2 separate regions of the Homo sapiens genome follow, and region 1 is linked to region 2. Evidence: promoter capture Hi-C in 16 types of primary human blood cells and fetal thymus (Javierre and others, 2016). All regions are on one chromosome and are shown on one strand. Each heading gives the region's core, a stretch centred on a gene start or on the middle of the fragment in contact. The rest is flanking DNA. Distances are from core to core; before and after follow the strand shown.

Region 1 (2,943 bases), core at 85-2,584, 1.2 Mb before region 2:
GCAGATTCGGGGTGCTGCAGACAGGAGAGGGGGAGATGGAGCTCGAGTCCCAGCTCTCTGCCCCTTCCAGGCCCCAGCTTCCCCATCTGTACACCTTGGAAGTAGAGCTAGAAAGATGACCTCTAAGGTCCTATCCAGTGTGGGGACCTTGTGGAATGTGCATAGTGTGTGGCCAGTCTTTGAGGTTTGATCCTCTGGGCCAGGCTTTCAGCTTGGGCCTACTAAGTAGAATTCAAGATCTCTTTAAAATGGATGCAAATTTGTGTGGGTTTAGGCTGCATTTCTATAAATTCATCATCCCCCAAAAGGTTAAAAGACAGGTTTTGTTTATACAGTGGTGGAGCCGATGAGAAACGGAACCTCAGAGACCAGGGAAAGTGGCCCTGTGGCAGACTTGCTCAAAGGGGCCTCAGCAACCATCTCCCCCTGCAGCAACCCCAGCTGGCAAGCTGCCACTCCTTACATAACTGTTCTTTGGAAAACCAGGCAACAAAACCTCCAGGGGAAAAAAAGCTATTGATTATTAAAGGGTATTTAGAGGTTTAGAGACTCACAATAAAGCAGTTATAATTATTCCTGTAATGACACATCCTTCGAAATGCTCAGATCTGAGAACATTTTGCTTGCATTGCATCAGTCATCATCATTACAGGGAGAAATGCAGAGAGCTGGAAATAGCTCGTGTGCAAGCTACAGGCAAGGAGTCACAAGGAAAGGAGCAAATTGACAGCGAGTCAGTGAAGGAAACAGGGGAGCTTCCAATGCCCAGAACCTGCACACAGTCCTGCAGCCTCTGTCTCCCTGCCTTGCTGCCCCGCTTCAAAGCCAGCTTCTGCTGCCAAAGGACTCTTGGGGTTGAAATGCTTGTTGCACAGTTACACATCAGCTGACAGTCCTTCTCTGATTTAATGAACTTCATCTATGAAAAATACCCTCAACAGGCCGGGTGCGGTGGCTCAGGCCTGTAATCCCAGCACTTTGGGAGGCCAAGGCGGGTGGATCCCCTGAGGTCAGGAGTTTGAGACCAGCATGGCCAACATGGTGAAACCCTGTCTCTACTAAAAATACCAAAATTAGCCGGGAGTTGTGGTGGACACCTGTAATCCCAGCTACTCAGGAGTCTGAGGCAGGAGAATCACTTGAACCCGGGAGACAGAGGTTGCAGTGAGCCGAGATTGTGCCACTGCACTCCAGCCTGGGTGACAGAGTGAGACTCCATCTCAAAACAAAACAAAACAAAACAAAAACCCTCAACAGAATGTCAAAAAAAAAAAAAGAAGAAAGAAAGAAGAAAAGAAAAGAAAGAAGAAACCTGGGAAATACCATCATCTTTCTGCTTTTGATAATAACAATAACTAGCATTTATTGAGCATTTACTCTGTATCAGACACTCCTCTAAGTACTCTCTGTATATTATCTCATTTAATTCTCACAAAAATTCATGAGCTAGGAATGATAATTATTCCCATTTACTAGACAAAGAAGCTAAGGCATAAATTGGACACAGTTATACTTAGTATGGGGCAGAGTCACAATTTGAACCTGGCTGGGGTGACCCTGGAGCCCCCAGCAGGCCGCTCCCTGTTAAGGTTTCCAAGCGCACTCTTGGGCTGGTAGAACAGCCAGCAAGACGAGGGCAGGGGGAGGGATGGTGTCAGAGAGGCATCTCCCTGAAGAATCTCAGAGGACACTAAGTGTTGGGCAACATTTGGTTTGGTTTCGTGTCTTTCGTGGTTCACTTGGAGGCTTTAATCCCCCACTTTACATAGCCCTCTCCACGCTGTTTCTGTTCATTTGACAAGTATCTACTGAGCCGACACTTTGAGGTCCGTGGGTGATTCTGAGGAGAACTAGACACAGTGCCCATCCTGGGAGATGCATAATTAGGTGGGACAGGGGTGAAAATCAATCCAACAAACCAGAATACCAGGCAGAGAGCGCCCTCGTGGAGGTGCAGAGGCTCTGAGGAAGGCCTCACAGCAACAAGGACAGGCAGGTGTTCCCCTGCAGGATGAGGGTTCACATGGGCTGGGGAGAGAAGAGGAGGGACCGCCCACAGAGGGGACCATGGGCACAGCACTCTTACTTCATGATTGTGTGGCCTTAGAAGGCTCAGAATGACAACCCCAGCTGCTTTGCGTTCCCGCAGCTCCAGGTCCCTTCTCCAGCCACCCAGCCCCAAGATGGTGATGCTGCTGCTGCTGCTTTCCGCACTGGCTGGCCTCTTCGGTGCGGCAGAGGGACAAGCATTTCATCTTGGGAAGTGCCCCAATCCTCCGGTGCAGGAGAATTTTGACGTGAATAAGGTAAAAGGCGAACCTCCCGTTTGTTTTGCTGCCTCCGCTGTGAATAAGCGTTCTACAAGGTTCAATGTAATTATGCTGCTTTAATTTCCACTGCACACCTTGGGACAAGTATTTATCTTATTTGGGGTTTCCCCAAAGCAGACATCTGCTGAGATAAAGACTGCAGGCAGAGAGGTTTGGGATGATCCCGGGACGCACGAGAGCAGGTGGGAAGGTGAGTCGGAGACAGCACAGAAGCAATAAAGGGTGCGTTCCTGAGCTGTCGCCCTGGGCCGTCAGGGTCAGTCACACTGGGCACCCTCTGAGGACACGTGGAGCATGCCCCTCCGATTGTCCCACAGCTGCTGCCAGCAGGTCATGGGAGCATCCGTGGCTCTAGCTGAGCCCCCTGGCAGAGGAGAGACACAGGGTCTCAGGTGGGAGGCTGGCAGTGTCTGGGAATTGCCTACCGTGGCTGCGGTGAACTCAGAGGTGGGCTGAGGGGAACAGGACCAGGGAACCATAGTAGCTGCTACAGAGCTATTATCCTTGTTCTACAGATGCAGCATCGGAATCTCCCTCCCCAGCTCACGCAGCTGGTAAATGCAAGTAGGATTCAAAACCAGGCTTCTCAGCAGTGCAGGGCACCCAAAGGTCA
Region 2 (2,769 bases), core at 14-2,513:
AGGCGCCCCTCACCTCCCGGATGGGGCGGCCGGCCGGGCGGGGGGCTGACCCCCCCACCTCCCTCCCGGACAGGGCGGCTGGCCGGAAGTCTTAATGCAGACAGCATTATCAGTGTGTTCAAAAGACACGTAGACACGTTTTGCCTATAGACAAATGGGCAAAAGGAAACCCAGCTTTCTCAAATGAAGCACAAGTGGGCCTTAATTATGTGAAAAGGTGTTCAAGTTCATCATTAAACAGGGAAAGGAAAAGTTAAAATCATGCTGAGATATCTTTCATAGAAATGGCAAAAAGCAGGAAGTGCCACGTGTGGGCAGAGAGGAAGCACAGGAACTCTCACAAATGGCAGGTGTCATCGTAGACCAACACAACCACTTTGGAGAGCAGTTTGACTTTCCCCAGTTAAACTGAACATGTGAGCGGCCGGGCGTGGTGGCTCATGCCTGTAATCCCAGCAGTTTGGGAGGCCGAGGCGGGCGGATTGCCTGAGCTCAGGAGTTCAAGACCAGCCAGGGCAACACGGTAAAACCCCGTCTCTACTAAAATACAAAAAATTAGCTGGGCGTGATGGTGTGTGCCTGTAATCCCAGCTACTTGTGAGGCCGAGGCAGGAGAATTGCTTGAACCAGGGAGCAGGAGGTTGCAGTGAGCCGAGATCGCACCACTGCACCCCAGCCTGGGCGACAGAGTCCCCCTCCCCCACCAAAAAAACAACAAGTGAGCATCCTGCAACCTAGCAATGCCATTGTTGAACAAGTTCAAAGATGTTCTTAGCCTTATTAGTCCCAAAAGGAAGAAAAAAATGGAGGATTTGAGAATGTTCTTAGCTTTATTGCTAAGCGGAGAAAGAAAAACAACACATACCAAAAAAAAAAAAAAAAAAAAAAAAAAAAAAAAAAAAAACCTGGGTGGGAAATTAGGGCCATGTGGCATGAAAAGGAAGACCCAGGGGAAGTGTGGCCCATCTAGGGGTGTGGCTACTGCAGTGATCCAGCTGTATCACTGAACTTCCCTGGCATCATAGAGTTATATTGTGCCATTTATGGAAAAACTCTCCCCACTGCTCTTGGCTTTGACAGTAGGAATCAGGTTATATATGGTCTCTCGGTTTGAAGATATTTGTCATTAAAAACCAGAACAAGGGCTCTGAGATAGGGTCCTTTCCTGACCTACTCTGGTAAAGTCTTTATCCTCAGGATGCAAGGATACCACCCTCTTCCTGTGGAAAGTGTCGAATCACATGCAGAGCTCTAAGTCTTTCAGTTACTTTGGAGTGCAGAACCATTTCAGGTAAGGCCAAATATTTTAAACATTAGTATAGGAAATTAGAGGGCTCTTTAGTCTGTGTGTGCATGAGAAGTAAAATTGCACGAGAAGCAATTTATGTAAAATTTCGCTTAGGAAACATTGTTTTGGCAGGTTAGTAGTATGGTGTGCATTTCCCAGAAAATTCAGTGCCGTGAGTATTACCTTTAGTTAAGCATCTTAGAAATAGTAGCTCTTTATGGCTAAGTCAGAAATACTACCCTCAAATTCTATGTGACCCTAGTTATACTGTTGAGCCTTTCTGTGCCTCTGTGCCTTCATCCTTGAATCGGGGATAATATACTTACCTCCTAAGGTTATTGTAAGGATTAAATGCATGTAGTATAAATAAAGAGCTGAGAACAATGCATGGCGTAAAGTGATAGGTATTATTATATGCTTTTGTTGGCTGTTGATTGAAGGTGTTCGCTGTTTTGGGGGTGTCCTTTAATAGAGTAACTTGGTACTGTGGAAATAGCATGATTGTGAGCAAAAGAATCAGATGGTGGTGGCTGCAGACTTTGCTGTTCCCTTCTTGACTGTTGGTTATAGCCAATGCAGGGTAAGTTATAAAGTCAAGAGCAGAGCCGTTTTCACAATGGACATTGCTTTGTGATGTCTGTGAGCTTGAATGTGAGAATGATTATTTTAATTCTCTATGTAAGGACTTTAAAGTATTGGCTATTCGGTAGCTTGAAAACTCTGTAATCTCAATGCTTTAAACTGAGAGTGGAAAATCAATAAAGCAAAAGCATGAGGCCACGCAGTGTAGAATGAGTGTCTTTTCACCACGTAGGGAAATCTGTAGTCCTAAGAAAAGAGGGAGTGAGAATTCTGGCGAAAGGATTGTGCCTCTGCACAAAGTGCAGGATCCCAGGGTTCAGTACAGGCGCGAACGCTCCTGTGTGTTGACCACACTCCCACGGTTGCTTTTTCAGACATGCTGAGGGGGACTCTACTGTGCGCGGTGCTCGGGCTTCTGCGCGCCCAGCCCTTCCCCTGTCCGCCAGCTTGCAAGTGTGTCTTCCGGGACGCCGCGCAGTGCTCGGGGGGCGACGTGGCGCGCATCTCCGCGCTAGGCCTGCCCACCAACCTCACGCACATCCTGCTCTTCGGAATGGGCCGCGGCGTCCTGCAGAGCCAGAGCTTCAGCGGCATGACCGTCCTGCAGCGCCTCATGATCTCCGACAGCCACATTTCCGCCGTTGCCCCCGGCACCTTCAGTGACCTGATAAAACTGAAAACCCTGAGGCTGTCGCGCAACAAAATCACGCATCTTCCAGGTGCGCTGCTGGATAAGATGGTGCTCCTGGAGCAGTTGTTTTTGGACCACAATGCGCTAAGGGGCATTGACCAAAACATGTTTCAGAAACTGGTTAACCTGCAGGAGCTCGCTCTGAACCAGAATCAGCTCGATTTCCTTCCTGCCAGTCTCTTCACGAATCTGGAGAACCTGAAGTTGT

Evidence for each region. The method cuts DNA at HindIII sites, captures the fragments that hold promoters and counts their contacts. A CHiCAGO score of 5 or more calls a contact.
Region 1: a contact is called between a fragment that was not itself captured here and the fragment with the promoter of GP5 in region 2, in 1 of 17 cell types (neutrophils). The highest score is 5.4, in neutrophils.

Annotation. Positions count from the first base shown.
Region 1 is chr3:195,578,702-195,581,644 of GRCh38, reverse strand. APOD (apolipoprotein D) reads left to right here. Exons shown (of 5, transcript NM_001647.4): 2 at 2,150-2,306. The coding sequence starts at 2,184. Among named protein-coding and RNA genes, the nearest start is that of APOD, 3.8 kb to the left of the region's middle. The HindIII fragment of the contact is 5,498 bases long and covers 1-2,943 here.
Region 2 is chr3:194,397,760-194,400,528 of GRCh38, reverse strand. It overlaps GP5 (glycoprotein V platelet), which reads left to right and starts at 1,263. Exons shown (of 2, transcript NM_004488.2): 1 at 1,263-1,291; 2 at 2,245-2,769. The coding sequence starts at 2,247. RefSeq lists an enhancer at 1-433. The HindIII fragment of the contact is 7,722 bases long and covers 1-2,769 here.